Regions from separate parts of the Homo sapiens genome. Here all the other regions are linked to region 3. The links are contacts of gene promoters, found by promoter capture Hi-C in blood cells and fetal thymus (Javierre and others, 2016). All regions are on one chromosome and are shown on one strand. The core of a region is centred on a gene start or on the middle of the fragment in contact, and the rest is flanking DNA. Distances in the headings are between cores, read along the strand shown.

Region 1 (2,700 bases), core at 104-2,603, 200 kb after region 3:
CTTAAACATTAATCTTCCAACTAGTTTCCCTACTCCAGACTTACAGCTTCAAACACTCTATCCTTCTTTACTATGGAGTTTTTTTTGTAAAAACAAAAAATCCACAAAACCAGTTATCCTGTTGTTATTTTGCTTAAAAACTGTTAATGGTTTCCACCCTGCCTAGGGAACAAAGTTCAAAGTTCCTCTTTTCAGAAAGCAAGCCACTCTGGAACTGTTCCCTGATGCCTCTCTGGCTCCATCTTCCATCATGGCCCCATTCACACAACACACACTGGCCACAATGAACAACTTGCCAGGCCTTTTGATGCCCCTGCTGCTTTGTTCACAAAGTTCTCCCTAATTAGGAGGGCCTTTCCCACTGGTCCAATGAATGCTCATCTCATCTTTTAAAACGGTGTAAATATCACCTCTTCTATGAAGTCTTTCCTGTCTCTCATACCCAAGAAGAACTGATCACCATCAACTCCTTTTTGTTCCAATTTCCAATTTAAACTCTAAGTTATTTGCGGGAAGGGATGGAATCTTATTTTTTATAGCCCCCAAATGAGCACAACTGCCCACCATATCTTAGGCTGTGACTAAATGTTTCTGAATGTATAACAAAAAAATAGGAGTACCAAAAGGTATGTAATATACAAATCACAACAATAACTGTATGAGTTCTTAAAGGAAATACAAGCTGATAAACTTGGAGGTAGCAATTCACGGTTTCTCAATATTTGTCACCTGCTGTCTATAGCCAACAAGTGGCAGCAAACACCAAAACTTTAAAAGAAACATATGAGAAGACAAAGTACAAAAAAATTTTGTCTTTCCACTAGGTAATTTTTTCTGCCAATTTTGAAATAATCATCATATTCAATATCAGTGTTAAAATAACCTGCATCTGGCTGGGCACAGTGGCTCACTTTGGGAGGCTGAGGCAGGAGGATTGCTTGAGCCCAGGAGTTGGAGACCAGCCTGGACAATATAGTGAGACCTTGTCTCTACAAATTAGCAGCATGTGGTGGCACATGCCTGTGGTCTTAGCTACTCAAGAGGCGGAGATGCGAGGATCGTTTGAGCCTGGGATGTCAAGGCTGCAGTGAGCCAAGATCAGGCTACTGCACTCCAGCTTGGGCAACAGAGTGAGACCCTGTCTCTAAATAAATAACTGGAATTTGATTATGAAAACACCAGTGGTTCCATGGGAGCATAGTCTGAGAACTATTATAGTCAATGGAAAAATCACTGAATTTTCATGCCAGTAAGAGTAGGAATTGTGATAGCTGGGTTAGACACCCAGAATTGAAAAAAGTGAGCCACATGACATTGATTGTTAAAGTATTTTCTTAGAGCTGTAATTTCCTGATCTCTCAAATACAGGTTGTAGTATAATGATTTCTGTTATTCTAGTTCTTAACCACTCTAGGTTCAATCAGTGTTTCAGGAATATCACTATATTGTCAGATGTGGACTATCATTAATTTGTGCCACGCCATATAGAGGTGGTTCTCGAAACACAAAAGTACCTGTATACTTTAAGAAACCAAAGCTATAGGCAATATTTGTTGCTCAGCTTACTAAGCTATGTGCATGTCCATCAATGTGTACAGAGGATCTTGTTCTTAACTGAACTATCTTAAATACCCATAGTTTTGTCAGAAATTATTCTGTATGAAGGGGTGATGTAGCAACAATAATGCTGCAGAAAAATCACCTTGCATTGAGACTCAATACTACTACAATTAACACCCTTTAAGTTCAACTTGACCCTTCACATGAATTCATAATAGTAACAACCCTTTTTCCTGCCCCCACAGAATTTTTTCCATTTCTCAAGTTGGCTATTTTAGACCTCCTCCACTTTGCTCAAGGTTCCCACCCCTACCTCCTGTGTTATTTTCAGTGATGTATGACCTTTGTTACTAATGCAAAGAGAAAATGGAAACCACCAGGCATTAACTGCCTTAACTGCCAGCCTTCCATGGCCATGGAGCTAGAGATAAGGTGGATGCAGACATGAAAAGAGAGACGCACTTCCTCGGTCAATTCTTCTTGTCTCTTCAGTATCTCCCTCTGCTGGTTCTCACTAGCATTTAAACAGGCTCCATTTTTAAAAAGCAAAATAAAACTAAACCTCCTCTGAGATATAAACTTTTGTATATGTAGGGAATCTCTAAAAGACATATTAAGTTGCTAAGACAGAGACTGAAACTAGGTCATGGGGTAGATGTCAGTATCTGACCTTTTATAACATTCATTTTCTAAAACTACATGCATAATACCTCCTCAAAATTAAAAAAAAATTACTATCACAATGGTCTTTTCAAAAAAACTTGAAAAAAATTATAAACACCCTTATACCCATGTAGCCCTCTCGTTTTCTTGAAAGCTAGGATTCATGGAAGAATTGTCCATACTACTTGACTCTACTTTCTTACCTCCGGTTAATTTTTTTTTTTTTTTTGAGACAGAGTTTCACTCTTGTAGCCCAGGCTGGAGTGCAATGGCACGATCTCAGCTCACTGCAACCTCTGCCTCCTGGATTCAAGCTATTCTCCTGCCTCAGCCTCTCAAGTAGCTGGGATGACACGAATGTGCCACCACGCCCGGCTAATTTTGTATTTTTAGTAGAGACAGGGTTTCTCCATGTTGGTCAGGCTGATTCGAACTCCCGACCTCAGGTGATCCGCCTGCCTCAGCCTCCCAAAGTGC
Region 2 (2,700 bases), core at 110-2,609, 180 kb after region 3:
ATCTGGGTTGCTTCTCCTTTTTAAATAATAATGCTATGAAAATTTGAGTACAAGTCTTTACGTATCTTTCTGTTGGGTTTTATTTCTTGTGGGGGGTAGAATTTTGGAGTCATATAGTTGGCTTGGGCTGCCCTAAGAAAATAACACATACTAGGTAGCTTAAACAGGAGGCCAGGCATAGTGGCTCACGCCTATAATCCCAGCACTTTGGGAGGCCGAGGCGGATGGATCACCTGAGATCAGGAGTTCAAGACCAACCTGGCCAACATGGTGAAAACTTGTCTCTGCTTAAAAAAAAAGTAAAAATTAGGCTGGGCACAGTGGCTCAAGCCTGTAATTCTAGCACTTAGGCAGATCAAGTCTCCAGCCTTATGATGGTTTAATTATTTCCCTAGAGGTCCATCTCTAGATAACAGCCACACTGGCTTTAGGGCTTCCACATATGAATTTTGACAGGAAGCGTTCAGTTCATAACATATGGTCAATCTGTTTTAACACTCCAAGGAACTGCCAAACATTCCCACACTGAATACATTTTACATTCTCTCCGGCAATATGTAAAGATTCCAGTTCCTTCACATATTAGCCAACACTTCCGTCTTTTTTAGTATAGCCATCCTAGTGTATGGTGGTACCCTGCAGTTTTGATTTGCATTTCTCTAATGACTAATGTTGAGCTTTCTTTCATGTGCTTATTGGCCATTTATGTAACTTCTTCAGTGAAATGTCTATTCTGATCTTTTGCCCCCATTTCAACTGGATTATTGACCTTTGTATTGAGTTGTAAGAGTTAAAGTCTGGTATCAGTCCTTTATCTGACATGATTAGGAAATATTTTCTCAGACTTGTCTTTTCACCTTCTTGATGGTGTCTTGAAGCGTAAAGGTTTTAAGTTAAATTTGTCTATTTTTTTCTTTTATTGCATATGCTTTGGTGTCATATCTAAGAAACTATTTGATCCAAGATCATGAAAATTGACTCCCATGTTACATAATTTTACAGTCAGTTTTGACTGTATCTTCCTGCTTCTTGAATTTCTGATAATTTGTTTTTGAATGCCATACATTCTGAATTTTACCTTTTTAGGTCCTGCATAATTTTGGGATTTCTAAAAACATTCTTGAGCTTTGTTCTGGCATGTGGTTAGCATGTTTATAGTTTGATCTTTTCGTGTCTTTTACCTTTGTTATGCAGGAACAGAGTAGCATTTAGTATATGGTTAATTTTCCCCACTACTGAGGCAAGGCTCTTCTTGGTTCTTTTACAAATGCCCATGGATCATGAGGTTTTCCACTCTGGCTGTTGGGACCAGGACAAGACACTGTTCCTGGCACGGTGAGTTCTGGGCACTTTCTTTCCTTTTGTTTGAGTGATTCGTTGCCTGGCTGCAGGTAGTTTCCTTACAAGCACATGCTGCTTAGTGCACTGAACACGTGGTGGGGACGCCTCTGCAGCTTTTCAGAGTTTCTGTGCAGCACTCTCCTCTCTGGTCTTCTGCTCTGTAAACTCCAGGTACATTTATTTCTTCAATGTTCCACTTCCACCTCACATCAAGGATGTCCATGGGCTCTATCCAGATGTTCCCTCCCTGACTGGAATCTGTTATGAAGCAGGGAGTCAGGCAATCATAGGACTCATCTGTGTCTTATTTCTCATGTCATTGTCCTTAATTGCTCGATGTCCATTTTCTTGAGAGATAGTTTCTGATTTTTCGTTATTTCAAGTGGGAGGTTAAATCTAGTCCGTTACTCCATCTTACCTGGAAGCAAAAGTCCTTTCTTCCTTTAATCTTTTGTGCCTTTTATGCATCTACCCAATCCACACTCCTTTTTGATAAATGTCTTTTGGGATCAGGCATAGTCACTGATTTGGAATGCAGAACTGTTCAACTTAGAGATCATACAAAAATATTTCATAAAAAGGTAATTTTGGGCTAGGCAAAGTGGCTCATGCCTCTAATTCCAGCAATTTGGGAGGCCGAGGGGGTGGATTGCCTGAGTGCAGGAGTTCAAAACCAACCTGGGCAACAAGGGGAAACACTGTCTAAAAAAAATTAGCTGGGCATGGGGGTGGATCTCCTGAGCCTGAGAGGTAGAGGCTGAACTGTGACTGTATAAAACTCAAAAAACAACTTTGGCATAGTAGTGAGGGACCTAAAACATACATATGATCTTTGGCTTAAAATCTACATTCTGCAGTCTAGGATGATTCCAAATACAGTCGTTAGATATCTTAGTGACCTTAAGCCCTAAGTTCAGTTACAAGTCATAACACTGAACCTTTAAGAATGAGGTTGGGTCGTGTGTATTGGCACACCCTTTTCTCTGGGCCTAGCTTCACACGGGGAACATGGGAGCTGGATAATGGTCTCTATGGTCCTTTATATTAGTGTCTTAAAAATGCAGTGTTTAGCCACATCATTTAAGTGGATTATTATAACACCAGATTCAGCAGTAGAACAAGAAGTTGCCATACACAGTAGTCTTGGGTGCATTTAACTTTCTTCCTAGGTTAGATACTGTTACAAGATGGGAAAATATTTGTTTTTCTAAGTAAGGCTTTTTTCATTTTAAGAACATTTGTTGACACAGCATGCTTATTAATGTTTTGAATTTTAAGTTCTTGACACGTTGATTATTCAGTATTTTGCTTTAAAGTTGATTTAACCTGTTGCAACCTTGTGCATAAAACATGTCAATA
Region 3 (2,700 bases), core at 125-2,624:
AAATGTAATCCTATTCGGTGTGTCTGCAGACTTGGAGTGACATTGGGTTTGTTCCCCTAGAAAACTGAGTCAAATTGAATAGGCGTTTAGTCCTGTGCCTTTACCATAATTAAAAACAAGTTAAGCTGATTATAGCATGTGTCCAGAATTTAGGTGGTTTTGCTTTATAAAGAGAAGAGGTGCAAACCACAGGCCACTTTCTCTCATGATAAACAGCGCCTGGAGGCAGCGTGGAGGAGACACATCCATCATCCACGTTTCTAGGAATAATGGACATGAGAGAAGTATGTATAAAGAAGGAATCCTGTGCTTCGGGAAGCCGAGGTGGGAGGATCGCTTGAGGTCAGGAGTTCGAGACCAGCCTGGGCAACCTAGTGAGACGCCCCCCCCACCACCTCTCTTAAAAAAAAAAAAAACACATATATATATATTTTTTAATTTGCACTTTTAATTTATAAAATTTTTAATTTTTAACATTTTAAATATATATAAATTTATATATAATTTTTAGAGAAAAAATATATAATATATATATACCTAGGAAGACCCCAACCTCTGAAAAAAATTTATATATATAAATTTTTAATTTATAAAATTTTAAATACATATTTACTTATTCTTTTTTTTTTTTGAGACGGAGTTTCACACTTGTTGCCCAGGCTGGAGTGCAATGGTGCAATCTTGGCTCACCACAGCCTCCACCTCCCGGGTTCAAGCGATTCTCCTGCCTCAGCCTCCCGAGTAACTGGGATTACAGGTATGCGCCACCACACCCGGCTAATTTTGTATTTTTAGTAGAGACAGGGTTTCTCCATGTTGGTCAGGCTGGTCTCGAACTCCCGACCTCAGGTGATCTGCCGGCCTCAGCCTCCCAAAGTGTTGGGATTACAGGCGTGAGGCACCGCGCCCGGCCAATACATATTTACATGTATAAATTTTTTTAAATTGAAAAAATTACATATGTATTTTAAGAGAGTTGGGGCGGGTCTCTCTAGATAAATATATATCTCTCTCTCTATATATATATATATTTTTTCTCTCTCTCTCTCTCTCTCTGTCTCTCTCCTTCTTTCTTTCTTTCGAAGGCATTCCAGGGGAGGCCTGTGCCCTACGGAGACCTCTCTGGGTTTCCTGCAAAGAACCGCTTGAGAAAGAATAGAAGAGAGAGCCAAGAGCGGAGAGAAACTCATTTAAATTCTCCTGTCTTCGCCTTTCCATTTGCAGCCTGGGGAACCCGGCGTGCAGTACCGCTCACCGCCCAGCCTCGCCCCCGCGCCCGCGACCAATGGGAGGCGGCCGGGCCGGGAGCGCGGCCAATGGCAGCGGCCGGAGGAGACGCGGCCGTTTAAGAAGCGGTGGGTGCGAGAGGGGGCAGAGCACCGGACGACAACAGCAGCAGCAACAACGCGGCAGCCGCCACCATGGCCCTGCAGGTACCCGGGGCGCGGGGAGGCCACGCGGGAGGGGCGCTCCGCGAGGGGAGTGCTTAAGTGGGGCTCCGGGTGGGCTTGGCGCCCCTGGGAGCGGTCGGCGGTGACCCGGGGGACACGCCCACTCCTTCCCCAGCGCCCCAGATGGCAGTGTAGACCGCACCTGTGCCTGCTGACGGCGAGCCAGGGCTCCCAGGGCAACCCTTCCGGACCCCAGGGGCCGGGTGAGCGGAAAAGCAGGCAAGGCAGGAGCGCCGGGGAGCACGGAGCGGGCCTCCTCCTCTCCGTCTCCGAGAGGGAGTCGAGATCCCCCGCTCCCGCCCCTTCGCTCGTTGGGACCTCCAGGACCTCTCTTAGTGTCATACTGAGCAGAAGAGATCTGTGAGGCTCCAATTTAAAAATACTGTTTTATAGGTATGTGAAAAAAATTGTTAAGGGTGGAAAACTTTGGAAAAGACAACAAATATAAAGTAATAATTACTGATAATAATCCAATGATAATTCCTTCACCCAGGTGATAATCACTGCTACATGCTAGGGTAATTCCTAGTATGTCCTAGTATGTTATTTTCCATGTGTGTATGTGTGTGGCATATATCTACACACATACCTATGATGTTATTGTGTATATAGTTTTATTCCTACACGTAAAACAGTAATATGAGCATTTTCTCATTATTAAATATTCTAAAATGTAATTTTATTTTTCTTTTTTGAGACAGAGTCTCATTCTGTTGCCCAGGTTGAGGCGCAGTTGGTGCGATCTCTGCTCACTGCAACCTCTGCTCACTGCAACCTCCACCTCCCAGGTGTAAGCGATTCTCATGTCTCAGCCTCCGCAGTAGCTGGGGTTACAGGTGCACGCCACCACGCCCGGCTGATTTTTGTAATTTTTTTTTTTTTTTTTTAAGATGGAGTCTCATTCTGTCACCCAGGCTGTTTGAGATGGAGTCTCACTCTGTCACCCAGGCTGGAGTGCAGTGGTGCAATCTCAGCTCACCGCAACCTCCGCCTCCCAAGTTCAAGTGATTCTCCTATCTCAGCCTCCCAAATAGCTGGGATTATAGGCGTGCGCCGCCACTCCTGGCTATTTTTCTCTATTTTTAGTGGAGATGGGGTTTCGCTGTGTTGGCCAGACTGGTCTCCAACTCCTGACCTCAAGTGATCCACCCGCCTTGGACACCCAAAGTGCTGGGATTTCAGGCGTGAGCCACCACGCCCGGCCTCTAAAATGTAATCTTTTACATGCACAAAATTTCATAGAACGTGG
Region 4 (2,700 bases), core at 123-2,622, 230 kb after region 3:
AGATAACAAAGTTTTAAGAAAAATTTATGGTCATGAAAAATGTACTCCCTAATCTTCATACAGAACTTCTTAAATGCAGATGAGTGGCTTAAAAAATAATGTTATCTATTAATATCTATAAACCTTATAGATATTAAAGCATACTTTTATGGTTGAAATCTTTGTGACAAAGGCAAAATTTCCCTAATGAAAAATTATAAATTTCATTTCCTTCTTAATTACTGATTAATAAAGCAAATATATACCGAGGACTTGGACAAACTTAACCCTAAGGAATTCTGGAACTAGAAAAATACACATACTCTGTCCAAAAAGAGATTCTAATTCAATGCAATGCCTTTTCTATCTTTTGAGTTGTAGCCTGAACTCTTTCTTCAAAGATCTGGAGCATAGCTGTCCAACAGGACTTTCTACCAGTCACTAGCCACATGACTACTGAACATTTGAACTGCAGCTAGTGCTACTGAGGAACTGCATTTTTAATGTTATCCTAATTAAGTTAAATTTAAGCAGCCACAGGTGGCTAGTGGCTCTTTTATTGGGCAGTGCAGATCTAGAGTCTTCATGAAGGCCCGGGGAAAGTGAAGAAGCTAAACTAAACAGATGAAAAGAGAATTTAACCAAATACAGTCACTAGAATCCTAAAAAAATATATACTGCAGTCTTGGAAATTTTCACTATGCTTCAAAGTCACCTATTATGTTGTTGAGAGGTTTGAATAGGCCGTATCATTATTATTAGCAAATATGCAACACAAAGACTACAGCACGTCCTCCCTTTGTACTTTATCACTTGTAGGATCTAGGTTGAAGGTTCTAGGATGCCTTTGCACACTCCTAATTGTAGCCATAAAATAACAGGGCAAGCAATCACAACTTATGTAATTACTCTGGTAACAGCTATTTAGTCTGACAAAAACTGGACCCCAATAAAGTGAAGACATTATAGATGGTTGATAAATCTCAAACAAACAAACAAAAAACCCAAAGTAAGAAAATTATACCTAAACAAACATGTTCTTGGAATTTTTTAAAAAAGTTTTTTGAACTTCAGTTTTACCTGGACACATTGCAATCAAAATCTTGACCTTCATATAATGAGTCAAGAAAACAGTTGGCACTTCCCAAGGTTGACAAAGAATGTTTCGCTACTTCAGCACTGTTCGTTAATTTCATCATGGCTCGCGCATTTCCTCTCACATCATGTTTGAAGGATCTAAATTAAAAACATAGCCTTTGGGGTTTAAAATTACTGGGCCATTTACAATATTGTAACTAAGATCTGGATAATCCTTATTAAAACAATAATAAATTAGTGAATCAGGCCGGGTGCGGTGGCTCACGCGTGTAATCCCAACTTTGGGAGGCTGAGATGGGTAGATCACCTGAGGTCAGGAGTTCAAGATCAACCAGGGCCAACATGGTGAAACCCCATCTCTACTAAAAATACAAAATTAGCTGGGTGTGGTGGTGCATGCCTGTAATCCCAGCTACTTGGGAGGCTGAGGCAGAAGAATCGCTTGAACCTGGGAGGTGGAGATTGCAGTGAGCCGAGATTGCACCACTGCACTCCAACCTGGGCGACAAGAGCAAAACTCTGTCTCAAAATAAATAAATAAATAAAATAAATTAGTGAAACAATATTTTATTCCGGATTTTAGTATTTCTCTTCTAATCCCTCTAAACTTTCCTAAAACACTCTGTGCAATTAAAGGGGTCACCTCAAGAAAAATGAATTACCAATTTCCTTAATACTCTGAATTGCTACATTATGTAACCATGAACTGCTGCATTATATAATTGTAATAATAGACTGTACTCTGAAGAAAGTAGAGTAGATATCACCCTTTTCCAGGTGAGACACAGAGGTTAAAGGAGATAAGGAGATTTATGTAAGAGCGTCAAAGTCTCCTATTTTACCCTTTATAATCACAGCACAATCACTGTTTAATGGCATAAAATTATTTGTCAAGCATTAAAAAGAAAAAACAACCTACAAGTGTTTCTTCAAAAAAATTTGACACATACAACAAAATATGTAAAATTACATTCCACTATCTCCAATATGAGTTCATGTTTAAAACTACTTACTAAGTAGTGATCAATGACTTCATTTAAACAACATCTTTGTAACAAAAAGCAGTATAGGTCTTTATCAAACAAGTGAGACATTATGACTTTTTCAAGACTTCTTCAACCAATTAGGTTAGTCAAACTGGCTAAAATACCATTTCAATTACACTTTTTTTTTTTTTTAGAGCAGCAGTACCCAAAGTATAACCTTTACATATCTGACTTTTGTAACATCCAAAAGGGTTAGAATTTTAGAGTAATTATATCCAGTAACAAGACTGAAATATTCCTAGCAGCAGATGAGTAATTAAGATAAATATTCCATAAGACAATAACTCACTGGAATATGAAGATAACATAATGCAATCTTCACCAGAGCCAAACTTTTAAAAACTGTTCAGAAGGCAATGAAGCCTCAGTGCCTATACACTCCTTTAACCAGACAGAAGAGCACTACATGAAGAATTAAAATCTACGTTCATGCAGTTCAGTATCTGACGGTCTCTTTACACTAAGTGAAAAATCCAAGCACACTGCACTAGGCAGCCTGGCCTCTGCTTCTTTGAATTGCCTGGACAGGACATAACTCTAGATATGAAAATATCCAGTTTCCAAGCAATGAAAAAAC

The links. The method cuts DNA at HindIII sites, captures the fragments that hold promoters and counts their contacts. A CHiCAGO score of 5 or more calls a contact.
Region 1: a fragment that was not itself captured here is called in contact with the fragment with the promoter of ACBD7 in region 3 in 2 of 17 cell types (neutrophils and monocytes); the score reaches 6.4 in neutrophils.
Region 2: a contact is called between a fragment that was not itself captured here and the fragment with the promoter of ACBD7 in region 3, in 1 of 17 cell types (monocytes). The highest score is 5.4, in monocytes.
Region 4: a contact is called between a fragment that was not itself captured here and the fragment with the promoter of ACBD7 in region 3, in 1 of 17 cell types (neutrophils). The highest score is 5.5, in neutrophils.

The regions. Positions count from the first base shown.
Region 1 is chr10:14,888,856-14,891,555 of GRCh38, reverse strand. The region is part of intron 2 of SUV39H2 (SUV39H2 histone lysine methyltransferase); the gene reads right to left. Among named protein-coding and RNA genes, the nearest start is that of SUV39H2, 11 kb to the right of the region's middle. The HindIII fragment of the contact is 6,653 bases long and covers 1-2,700 here.
Region 2 is chr10:14,909,825-14,912,524 of GRCh38, reverse strand. The region is part of intron 13 of DCLRE1C (DNA cross-link repair 1C); the gene reads left to right. Among named protein-coding and RNA genes, the nearest start is that of SUV39H2, 32 kb to the right of the region's middle. The HindIII fragment of the contact is 4,483 bases long and covers 1-2,700 here.
Region 3 is chr10:15,087,450-15,090,149 of GRCh38, reverse strand. It overlaps ACBD7 (acyl-CoA binding domain containing 7), which reads left to right and starts at 1,374. Exons shown (of 4, transcript NM_001039844.3): 1 at 1,374-1,433. The coding sequence starts at 1,422. It overlaps ACBD7-DCLRE1CP1 (ACBD7-DCLRE1CP1 readthrough), which reads left to right and starts at 1,374. Exons shown (of 8, transcript NR_144471.1): 1 at 1,374-1,433. RefSeq lists a silencer at 1,200-1,589. The HindIII fragment of the contact is 6,812 bases long and covers 1-2,700 here.
Region 4 is chr10:14,852,640-14,855,339 of GRCh38, reverse strand. HSPA14 (heat shock protein family A (Hsp70) member 14) reads right to left here. Exons shown (of 14, transcript NM_016299.4): 9 at 1,060-1,215. Among named protein-coding and RNA genes, the nearest start is that of MSANTD7, 16 kb to the right of the region's middle. The HindIII fragment of the contact is 3,163 bases long and covers 1-2,700 here.